4 separate regions of the Homo sapiens genome follow, and all the other regions are linked to region 1. The links are contacts of gene promoters, found by promoter capture Hi-C in blood cells and fetal thymus (Javierre and others, 2016). All regions are on one chromosome and are shown on one strand. Each heading gives the region's core, a stretch centred on a gene start or on the middle of the fragment in contact. The rest is flanking DNA. Distances are from core to core; before and after follow the strand shown. Region 1 holds the start of CETN2 (centrin 2). Region 2 has its middle 16 kb from the start of CCNQ. Region 3 holds the start of ZFP92 (ZFP92 zinc finger protein). Region 4 has its middle 10 kb from the start of HAUS7.

Region 1 (2,700 bases), core at 76-2,575:
TTATTGAATAATACTCAAAGTAAGTAAAGACAGGAAAACAGCACAGTACAACCTCCCCTGTTACTTACTGCAGGGAGAAGAGGGCAAAAGGGGTAGAGAGGTGATAGGGAGATGACAAGGAAGAGGCAGAGGAAAGGAAGGGCAGTACGGCAGGAATGCACAGAGCTTGCCTTCAGTTCTTTAACATCTATGGTGCCAGTTCCATCCGCATCGAAAAGATCAAAAGCTTCCCGGATCTCCTGCTTTTGCTCTTCAGTAAGCTCAGGCTTAGGGCTCATTCTTTTTCGCTGAGAACTTGATGCCATGTTTGCCTTCTTAAAGTTGGAGGCCTTTATATGTTATGCAATACACAAGCACAATAATATATCATACAGTCCATATTTACATAACATAGTTACAGACACCCATATGTATTTTTAAAGTCATTTATATAACCAATTCCAAAGCTTTGCTTAAAAAGAAAGATAACAGGGTTTACTGGCAAGAACAATGAATCTTTCCATGAACTTCTACCCCTCCCTTTTCTTTACTGTTGTTTCTAGAAGCAGGGAGATCACTTGTTCAGTAAGGACACCTCTTACTGAAAATCATCCCAAAAGAGAGCCAGTCAAGAAGATGACTGTGAATAACTAGAGATAATCAGCTCTTCCCGAACGTGGGGATCCTGGTTCTGAAAACAGTCTTACGATGCCCACTCCCAGTACTCCCCTTCCCAGTAAGTACTCCGACTTCCCAATTACTTCTAGATTTGGCCAAATATTAGTAAGTTGTTAAGATGTATATTGTGTCAGTACCGAGTAATAAAACTCAATCCATCTGGCACCTTCGTGCCTTCTCCAAGAAGCTAAAGCATCCCCTGAATGCCCCTGTATTTAAATTGTAAAAAACATTGTAACAGAACACGATACACCTTTTCCCAGCTGTGTGTGGAAATTTTGGCAGAATGAGGAGGCCAGGGGGCCAAGGTCTGAGAGAGTCAGGGGCCTGTGAGGGATTCGAGTCTTTTTTGCCCAGGGAGGTTCACCGAGGGGATCAGGGAATGCAAGGGGAGCCCGAGGGGCGGGTGTGGGCCTGTTGTGGGTGAAGAGGAGGCAGCAGCGAAGCGCAGGCCCAGTAGGTTGGTTAGCGTCTGTACCCTACTCTCCCGGGAAAGAGCTCAAAGGAAAGACTGGTGCGCTAAAGCCGAGAAAGGCGCAGGAGAGGCGGCGTGGCCGAGCTGGGGCCTGGGAAGGGCTCAGCCGCTGGGCGTGGGGCGCGACAGAGCGGCAGCACTCACCATAGCCAAAGGAGTCCGCTGCCGGTTGTTAGGCAACCGACGTGTACACTGACTCGGCGCCGTTCCCACCGCCCCGCGCGCGCAGCCCCGCTCCCCATTGGCCGTCCGCTCGTCGCCGCCTCTCCCTATTGGTGCAGGGCCGAAGAGGGTGGGACTAACCTGGCAAAGCCCCGGCCCAGCGCGGGGAGGGGCACGCTGGCGACAGAGCCCCGTCTTTATTGGGCAAGATCACGCCGTGAGCGCCAATTGGCTGAGTCGTCGCCGAGCTGGGCCAATCCTCTTGGTGGAGGAAGCTCGGCTGATTCTCGGCTCACGCGGGAGGGGAGTAAAGGGTGGCGGTCCGGGCCTGGAGTTCAGTGGGTGCAGCCTGCTTGCGAGCTGAGGCCAGACAGGGGGGCGCCTACGGACGGGTAAGAGTCGTGGCCTTGCCATTGGAGGTCACCCTGTGTCAGCGACTGGGCAGTGCGGGAGGGTGGGGAGCTACGGGGTCGCCCGGGTCGGGTGCTTTCTGGGTTGACCTAAGGCTGAGTTTAGGGACCGAGTGCATCAGAGCAGCCAGAAACGATTACCTTGCGTGTTGGAGCAGGGACTGTACTCACGGGGCAACTGAGACCCGGAGAGGGGAAGGGGTGTGCTGAGTGTTGTCGCAGAGGTCGGACGGCTGGGACCTAGGAACTGAATCCAGCCGAGGCTCGCTCTTTGAGGGTGGCCCTTCGAGAGCACCCCTAGACTGACCCAGATGTATAGGCCCCAGACCAGGTTCCAAGAGAGGATCACTTTAGATCTTACCTGGCTAAAAGCAGCCCAGGACGGTGAACTGGGGCCTTTGGGAACGGACTTTGAAAGGAGTGAGGGGGATGTGAGCGAGCATGAGGGGCGGGGAGAGGTCATCAAAATATACTCTTTTTGACACCCACACAATGCAGATAAGGAGGAGCATTCCAGGCCGAGACGCCCTCATCAGCAGAGTCACAGGAGTTTTGGAAGTGAGAGGTATGCTTGGAGAATTAAAAGGGAGCGTGTGCAAGGGCTGTGGACTGACATAGACCTGCAGAAGTGGAGCTGGAGGTCCAGTTTGCCCTCTTTAGCTATCCCCGTGGCTTTTAGCCTTCACCTGTTTTTCCTCCAGGCATAGGGGCAGTAATCTAGGGAGACAGAGGGCAGAGAGTAAGTTTCTCAGACAGAGAAAGGCCCGAGGCTTATTAGAACCTTTTAAATGGAGCTGCTGCCCTTTGCCCTCTTCTCTCTTCAGCAGTGAACAGATTCCTGACTTTTGGGTCATCATCATCCCCCCAAGTAGTACGAGCCAGAGTTCTCACTGTGATCTCCAAAGCTTGGCACGACGTGTCCCCTTCCATCGCTCCACAACTCTTCTCTCGTCTGGCTCACTCCAGCCCCAGAACACTGGCTTTGTGGTTGAACCT
Region 2 (2,858 bases), core at 249-2,748, 780 kb after region 1:
GTGACCAGAGATGGCAGCAGTCAGAGCCAGTCCTGGGACCCAATTTTTCCCCTCATCTGTTACCTGGGGGGGTCACCAGGGCCTAATGAAGACTTTTGAGGTTTCTCAGCCACAAAAGGATCACGGTGCCTCTCCATATGGAATTCAGCAGAACTCTCACCTTTTAAAACGGTCTAGTAGATACTGAGTAGACACAAAAGGACATTTACAAAATATGTGTAAGTGTAAAGAACAATACAACAAACCTCTGTGTACTCACCACCAGCTTAGAAGAAAGGTAACGTTCCCTTTGAAGGACCTTGGGTGACCCTTCTCATTGCCCCATGTCCCCTACCCCCACTTCAGAGGTGACCTTCTGGAATTTTGCATATACCACTCCTGTGTATTTCTTTATAGTTTCACCACCTTTGCATCCCCAAACAATATATTTTTTAGTTTTGCCTGTTTTGAATTTTATACAAATGGAATCATACTGTCTGTATTATTCTGTAACCTGCCTTTCCGCTGAATGTGGTATTCCCGAGACGAAGAGCTGTAATCCATTCTTCCCGCAAGCATTCTGTTCTGTTGTGGGATTAAACTACAACTGATCTCTGCATCATCTGCTTGGTGGAAGGGGGAATTGTTTCCACTTTTTGGGCTGTTACCAGAGTCCTGATGCCCAGCACAAGTTTCACTAGTGGGCATATCCAGAGGAAAATCCCTGGGCCACCAGAAATGTACACTTGCAACTTTGCTGGGCAATGAAAAATTGTTTTCTCAAGTGGTTGTACCAATCCATATGCCCCCCCCTGTAGTATACAAGCTTTCTAGCGGTTTCACAGCCTTGCCAACACTTGATGTCGTCAGACCTTATTTTCCATATGGATAACCAATTGTCCAGCATTATTTATTGAACATCTCCTTCCCCCACTGGCCAGCAATGCCAGCTTTGTCATACATCAAGGTTTTTGTTGTTGTTGTTGTTTGTTTGTTTGTTTTGAGACAGGGTATCACTCTGTCACCCAAGCTAGAGTGCAGTGGCGCGATCTCAGCTCACCACAGCCTCGACCTCCCGGGCTCAGGTGGTCCTCCCACCTTAGCCCCCTGAGTAGCTGGGACTACAGATGCCCGCCACCATGCCTGGCCAATTTTTTGTACGTTTTGTAGAGACAGGGTCTCACCATGTGTTGCCCAGGCTGGTCTCAAACTCCTGGGCTCAAGTGATCCTCCTCTTCAGCCTCGCAAAGTGCTGGGATTCCAGGCATGAGCCACTGTGCCCAGCCCGCACTATCTTAAATATGGCACCTTTATAATAATTCTTAGAATCTGCCGAGGCAACTCCACCCACCTCCTCCTTCTCTCTGTCTTAGCTGTGCCATTTGTTCTTCCATATAGATTTAAGAACCACCTTGTCAAGCTCCGTTTACAAATGGCATTTAGATTACAATTACGTTCAATCTAAAACTTAAATTGGAAAGAACTGGCATGCTCAAAACATTGATTTTTCAGAAAATCCTGGATATCCAAGGTAATGGCAGCCCCTTAAATCTGGAACTCTCAACAGAGCTTCCAAACCAAAATCACTTTTAAAAAGCAAGCACAAATAAACCCACCCAAAACCCATGTCCTCGTCATAATCAGAAGACAGAGAGCATTTGAACTTCAAAGTACCTAAAACAGATCAAGTCACAAGGGTGGGGAAATAGATCCTCACAGGAAATACAAACGGAAACAAGTGAAGCAAACCATATATCGAACAATAACACAACCACCTTGAAAGAGAAAAAAACTCGGCAAGCAACCTGAACACGGTATGGGACTATATGTCCTCGAGTGAAAAACAAAAATAACTCTAGACAAACCTGGAAATCTGCAGAGTAGTTTTCTCCTTTCCAGAGACATGAGTTGATGATTCTGAAACTACTTTCCAAGTATTCTAGGACTGAGCAAATACATAAATATATTTCAGGTAATGGGAGCCAACTTTCTCAGCAAGAGGGAAAGAAGTTACCAACCAGCAAGTAGGAGGAAGACTAGAAGGGACGTGGTGCTGTTGGGTTGAAATTGGATGGGTCAGTATGAACTCATGGTAGATAGATAGATGGATATATATAGAGAGAGAGACAGAGAGAGAGATAGATAGATATGGGACTGTATATACATATATACACATATATGTATGTATTCTCTATGTGTGTGCAATTTCCCAGTAAGCTTCTAAGTGTCATTATCCACTCAAAATGAATTAGGGATCCTAGGAGAAATGGCTGATTCCAGAAAAGGAGACCAGGGAAAGTCAAGATGAGCCTAGAACACCCTGTTCTTCCAGAAAGTAAGAAACCCCCGAGTCCACAGTGATAAAAAGAAATAAGTAGAGTTGTACACTGAATAATGACACTTTGGTCAAAAACAAACTGCACATATGACAGTGTTCCCACGAGATTATAATACTGCACTTTTTTTTTCTTTTTGAGATGGGGTCTCACTCTGTTGCCCAGACTGGAGTGCAGTGGCGTGACCTCAGCTCACTGCAGCCTAGACCTCCCAGGCTCAACCAATCCTCCCATGTCAGCCTCCCTAGTAGCTGGCACCTGCCACCACACCTGGCTATTTTTAAACTTTTTTGTAGAGATTGGGTCTCACTATGTTGGTCAGGATGTTCTTGAATTTCTAGGATCAAGTGATCCTCCCGCCTCAGCCTCCCAAAGTGCTGAGACTACAGGTGTGAGCCACCGTGCCCAGCCTATAATACTGCATTTTGACTGGACCTTTTCTAGGTTTAGACACACAAATACTTACCACTGTGTTAACAGCTGCCTACATTATCATAGTGTACAGGTTTGTAGCCCAGGAGCAATAGGCCATACCATATAGCC
Region 3 (2,817 bases), core at 116-2,615, 580 kb after region 1:
AGCTCATCCAGTCCAGACACACATCCTGTCCCCACAGGAGCTCACAGTCGCCATCACCCTCAGTGGATATCTGAGGCTGGCAGCATATTCCCAAGGCTCTGCATGCAGCCCAAGACCACCTCCCTCCAAGGGCACTCCAGCAGAGCAGTCAGCCACAGCCCAGCTGACCCCTGGGAGAGGTGCCGCCCTGACCCCTGCCCTGCTGTGAAGGTGGCTTACAGCCCCCTTTGGCCTGGCCTTCCCCAACTTGCTCACTCACTTCCCACAGACAGCTTGACGTCACCCTGGACCTCCCTGCTGGGCCCCTGGGCACCTGCTGTGGCTTGGGAGACCGGCTGCCAACCTGCCCCCAGGAGGGGGCTGCCTGTGACCTGGCGGGTGCCCACGGCACAGTGGGCAGCACCACAGCTGTGGGAAAGCGCCCACTCCCCTGCCCCCCGGCTACCTCACCTGCCCGTCCTGGGCCAGCCTAGGGCAAGGGGAGAACGGGAGACCAGAGCTGGGGAGCAGCCAGGCCAGCCGGACTGTGAGAGGGCTAGGTGTGGTGGGAACCCAGGGAGGAAAGGGGACCTCCCCACTTCCAGACCCCAACTCTTCCTCCCCAGGTTCTGAATCCGGGTTTGCTGCCCGGGAGGCCCTGCCCCTGCCTAAAGCAGAGATGGAGATACCTCTCTCAGGAGGCCCCAGGCCTCAGGGCCACAATAAGGGGAGTGGAGAGGAGGAGAGAGGGCCGTGTGAGGACCGCCGGGAGGGCCCGTGTGCCCTGTCATCCTCTCTAGGTTGGGCATGGGTTTGCAGTTCTTTACAGTAAAAAACTGAAAACATGCTGGAAGGGAGATTGATCTCCCGACAGGATCGTGGGCTTGTCAAGGTCGTCTTCACTTGCTCTAGGCGTCGCGCTCTTCAGCTGACCGCGCTGCCGCCTCCACCACCAATGTGTCCACACACGCGGTGCCAACAATGGTGCACACGGTGACCCCTGCTCCCCCATTTCTAAGCTTGTGTGGGACCCGCAGCCCAGTGCACATGGCCCTTTCTCTTGCAGTGGAAGTGGGGTGCACTCCCAGGGGCCCCCTTCCCCTGCCCGAGGCACACACTCCCCAGCCTCCATGCAGGTTGGCCGCTCACACTCTCTGGAAATGAGCCAAGGACAACAGGAGCTGCCTTCCCAAGGTCGCCCCAGTCCCCACCAGGTTACTGGATGATGCGGGTGCAAAGGTCCCCCCGCCCCCTGCCTCCATGGCCCAGGAGGACTCTGGGCTCAGCCTATTCCCTCGTGTCGGAGTGGCCTGGGCTGCCGCAGCAAATGACCACAAACCGCTTGGCTTCAGCCAACAGGAATTGACTCTCCCAGTTCTGGAGGCCGGAGTCCAGAATCGGGCGCTTCCTCCGGTGGCTCTGGGGGTGGATCCACCCACCTCTTCCAGCTTCTGGGGGCCCTGGGCACTCCCCACCTTCGCCTCCACATGGCCTTCTCTGTGTCTCTCTCTCCTGTCTCTTCTAAGGAAACTGTCCTTGGATTTGGGGCCCCCTGGATCATCTGGGTTGCTCTCATCTCCACATCCTCAATTTAATGACATCTGCAGACACCCTTTATTTGCATATAAGGCCCTGATCACAGTGCCTGGGTGTTAAGATATGGATGTATCTTTCAAGGGGCACCAACCAGTCACCCCACAACATCTCAACAGCCCAGATCCCAGCCTGCCCAGCCAGAGCCCCGGTGAAGGGACAAGCTTGGGCACCAGGACACACAGCTGAGGGCCACCGGGAGACTCCCTGCCTCTGCGCCGGGAAAGGGGCTCCGAAGCTCTCCCTGCACTGGGCCCCCTGGGGGCCCTGCTCCCTGCAACCGGAGGTTCCCTGAGCAGCGTCCTCGCCCTTCCCCTATGCCCCAGATGGACGGCTTTTGTTCTGGGAGCGCAGGCTTGCCGAGGGCTCCTTGCTGCGGGCTAAGTGCTCCTGGCCAGGGCCCAGGGTCTCTGAAGAAAAGAAACCCCTGAACTCTGGTTCAAAGGCCAAGGAGGCTCCCGCCTCGTGCTCAGTTCCCAGTGGCCGGGGCTGGGATATGTGATGTGGCTGATTTTTCCCTGTTGCTTTTCTTTTACGGTCTTTTTCATACGCTTCACTATTTGTCAAAGGTCTCACAATTGTCATCAGAGCAATATCCCAACCAACCTTGGATTTCACTCCCTGCTCTACCACGTGGAGCATGACCCTTTGGAAAATGACAAACTCCAGGTGCGATCCCCTCCGGTAACCTGAGGGAAAGCCAGATGCACCCAGAGGGTCTTGGCTTCTTGCACTTCCCTGACCTCCTTTTTCCCCTCCTCGTGTCTCCACACCATGCTCCCTGAGTCACCTTTCACCTCTTCCCCGCTCTCTGATCCTTGCCATCCTGGGTCACTCCTTTACTGAGTGACCATGGCCGGGGTACTTGGTGCTAGCTGCCCTGCAGAGGTCCCGGGGACCCCAGCGAGATGAATAACTGAATGAATGGACGTAATAACGCCCAGGGGTCTAGCCCATGGGAGGTGTTCTGCCAACGCGGGTCCCTCCCGTCCCCTTCAGGAGCCGCGGTGCGCTGACCACTTCGACCCCAGCCTTCAGAGCAGCCCAGACAGAAAGCGGAAGTGCCTCGGGGCGCGTGGGGAGCCAGGCCAGACGCCCCTGTGGGGCGGGCGCGGGGCGGGCCGCCATCCCTCTGCGCCGCGCATGCTCCATGCCCCCCCCACAACGCGCCCCGTTCCCACGCTGCCGCCGCCCCGGCCCCGCCCGCTCCCGGCCCGCTCGTCGGCGCACCAGACTGAGACTCCC
Region 4 (2,865 bases), core at 108-2,607, 650 kb after region 1:
GCTACAGTGAGGCTGAGAGCGGGCTGGGGTGTGCTGGGGAGGAGTTGCTCTGGCTGCCCCAGTGCCTCCTGAGACAGGAAGAATCTCAGGTGGCTGGGAGTATAGGGCTTGGGGGTGAAGTGGGGTTGCTGGCAGAGAGGGGCTTGAGGGGCCCGAGGACATGGGCTATGAGTGTGGCCTTTGTCTTATAGGCCAGTGGTTGTAGCCACACTTGGTGGCCCTGCCCCAGGCTTGGGGGTAGGGCGGGAGGGGCCAGGTGGGTGGGTCTGCCCCTCACCCCTGCAGACAGAGCGGTGCCCCCCATGGTTGGCCCTGGTTAAGGAGGAGCTGCTCCATAGAGGACAGGAGGCATTGGGGTTATCAACATTCCTCCAAAGTGGCTCACAGACCCCTTGAGGTGGCCCCTGGGCTTGCCTAATCCCCAACAAACCCCCTGTAGCAGACACTGGGGCTTTCACTTCTAAAAGCAAATTGTGCCAGGTCGCAGCGACCCCTTCATCTCCCCAGAAGCTGTCCCTAGGAAGCACGTGTGAAGTCCTTGCTCACTAATGGGTATGGGGCAAAGGGGATGCTGGGGAAACGCCCTACCCCCCACCCTTGGGACACACTGGGGAAGTGAGGGGAGGTGGGACCCAAGGTCCCTTGAGCAGCCCAAGGCTTTCTACCCAGGGCTGCTGAAGCTCCCTGGGCCCAACCACCGGTCCAACCCCTGGGCCTAACCTATAGGCCCAGCCCCTTAGCCCTAATGGGCCTAGAGCGCCACCCACCCCCCTCCCCAGCAGTGAGGAGCTGTGTAAGTTCTGAGAGGTACTCTGGGTTACTGGCCCCAGGGGCTGGTGGCCTGCTGCTGACGGTGGGGACACTCTGTTCTCTCGCCAGTGCTCCTCAGGAGGTAAGGGAAAGGCGGGGCGGGGGGAGGCCTGGGTAAAGAGGAAGGGCGATGGGCTTTCTAGCAGCTGACAGCCCCTTGGGGAAAGGAGGCAAGGCCCCCAGCCCACACTGGCTCCTTCCGCAGGTCAGCTGCAGCCCATCCCTGGCATCGGCCACCCAGACAAGCCTGAGGCTGGGAAGCTGGACCAGTTGCGGGATCAGCCCACCCCGAAGCAGGGAGCTCAAGGAACCCCCACCCAGTCCCCCTCCACTGGCTGGAAAGCGCTTCCCAGGCCAGGGCTGGCCCTGAGGAAGGAGTCACCCCCAGTGACCTTGGAGCAGGAGCAGGGTCACAACAAGGGCCTGGTCGCTGAGTGGGCTCAGCCCCAGGCCACAGCTGCCATGAGGGCTGGGGCAGGGAAGCCCGAGGCCTTGAAGCTGAGGCCCTGGCAGGCCGGCAGGGACCCTCAAGCTCAAGAGGGGGCAGCAGTCACCGAGGAGGACCAGGGCCAGAGGACAGGAGGCCGGGAAGACAAGGGAAGGGGCCTGAAACCCAGGAGGCCCCCCAAAGGTGAGAACTGGCCAGGACAGGCGGCCTTCAGGTGGGGCCTGGGGCCTGCTGGGGCTGACAGGACCACGCATGAGTTTGGCCACCCAGGCACTGCCCCGTTCCCGGTGTTTCCAAGCCAAGTGCCCTCGTGTGTGGGGTGGGAGGGAAGCCCTCCAAAGTCACGTCCCCTCCCCAGCCTCAGAGCCCCCATTTGGGCCTTTGCCCTTGGTGCCAAGGGGAGGGGTCCCAGTAACCTGTCGCTCCAACCCAGGCTGGCTGAGTCACTGGCAGGCCCTGGGAGCCTCGGGCAAGCCCCTGTTCCTCAGTAGGGCCCCTGTTGCTTGTGACCCAGCAGGGGCTGTCTCTCTTCCTCCAGGGACCTCCCATCAACCTGGGCTGAGGATCCGGCGCCCACAGAAGGACCGCAGCCGAGGCCAGGGTGGCGGCGGCAGCACCTCCAAGACCCCAGGCCATGGGTGGAAAAGACCAGGAAGCACACATGGGCACAGGCACAGGCACGCAGACCTGGGCACCACCCAGCAGGCCATGCCCTCTCTGCCGGCCTCGTGCCTCCTGGCCCAGGCAGTCATCGCCTGTGGCAATGTCAAGATGAAGCATGTCCCTGCCCTGACCCACCCTGGTCTGACCACACTCTACCTGGCAGGTGGGTGGCCTCCTCGCCCCACACCCACCCCTGCAGCAGGGGTGAGAAGGCTGAGACCTGGGCTCCCACCCTGGCTCCCCTGAGCAGCCCTGTCTGGTGTGGGAGGTACAGAGTGGCAGCGGGCAGGGGGCAGAGAATATGGCTGCCCCATGTGCGCACAGAGAATGAAATTGCCAAGATCCCAGCCCACACGTTCCTGGGGCTGCCCAACCTGGAGTGGCTGGATCTCAGCAAGAACAAGCTGGATCCCCGAGGCCTGCACCCCCATGCCTTCAAGGTATGCTGTGGCCCATTCACCTCTTCTCGGGGGCCGGGGCTGGGGCTGGGGCTGGCAGGTCCCAGGTGACCTGAGGCATCCACTCACTGCAGGGTGGAGCTGCTTAGGGGGTAAGGCCTGGAGGAGGCACTGCAGAGAGCAGCCAGCATGGTGGGCTTCCACAATTTGGTGTGACGTGTTCCATCGCTGGGAGTAGGGGGAGCAGCACAGGCTTGCAGGCCCTGTATAGGAGCAAACAGAAACCTTCCCAGACAGGCCTGGATTCAGTGGGAACTAGGAAGCCATGATGCCACCAACAGAGTGCCCTTGGTCAGGATGGGCCCAAAGCCATGCCCAGGAAGGCCTGTGCCCCGACCAGCAGGCCCCCAACCCCAGCCCACCTATTCCCCATGACCTCCCAGAATCTGATGCGGCTGAAGCGGCTGAACCTGGTTGGGAACTCGCTGACCACAGTCCCGGCCCTACCTGCCTCCCTGCAGGAGCTCAAACTCAACGACAACCTCC

Evidence for each region. The method cuts DNA at HindIII sites, captures the fragments that hold promoters and counts their contacts. A CHiCAGO score of 5 or more calls a contact.
Region 2: a contact is called between a fragment that was not itself captured here and the fragment with the promoter of CETN2 in region 1, in 1 of 17 cell types (neutrophils). The highest score is 7.4, in neutrophils.
Region 3: a contact is called between a fragment that was not itself captured here and the fragment with the promoter of CETN2 in region 1, in 1 of 17 cell types (monocytes). The highest score is 5.1, in monocytes.
Region 4: a contact is called between a fragment that was not itself captured here and the fragment with the promoter of CETN2 in region 1, in 1 of 17 cell types (neutrophils). The highest score is 5.4, in neutrophils.

The regions. Positions count from the first base shown.
Region 1 is chrX:152,829,432-152,832,131 of GRCh38, forward strand. It overlaps CETN2 (centrin 2), which reads right to left and starts at 1,326. Exons shown (of 5, transcript NM_004344.3): 1 at 1,277-1,326; 2 at 171-329. The coding sequence starts at 1,279. NSDHL (NAD(P) dependent 3-beta-hydroxysteroid dehydrogenase NSDHL) reads left to right here and starts at 1,632. Exons shown (of 8, transcript NM_015922.3): 1 at 1,632-1,686. RefSeq lists a silencer at 1,226-1,565. The HindIII fragment of the contact is 2,163 bases long and covers 445-2,607 here.
Region 2 is chrX:153,613,338-153,616,195 of GRCh38, forward strand. No RefSeq gene overlaps it. Among named protein-coding and RNA genes, the nearest start is that of CCNQ, 16 kb to the left of the region's middle. The HindIII fragment of the contact is 1,391 bases long and covers 804-2,194 here.
Region 3 is chrX:153,408,699-153,411,515 of GRCh38, forward strand. ZFP92 (ZFP92 zinc finger protein) reads left to right here and starts at 2,774. Exons shown (of 6, transcript NM_001136273.2): 1 at 2,774-2,817. It also overlaps a transcript of PNMA6E not described here. RefSeq lists a silencer at 2,570-2,817. The HindIII fragment of the contact is 738 bases long and covers 997-1,734 here.
Region 4 is chrX:153,479,565-153,482,429 of GRCh38, forward strand. It overlaps a transcript of HAUS7 not described here and the pseudogene ECMXP. Among named protein-coding and RNA genes, the nearest start is that of HAUS7, 10 kb to the left of the region's middle. The HindIII fragment of the contact is 5,581 bases long and covers 1-2,865 here.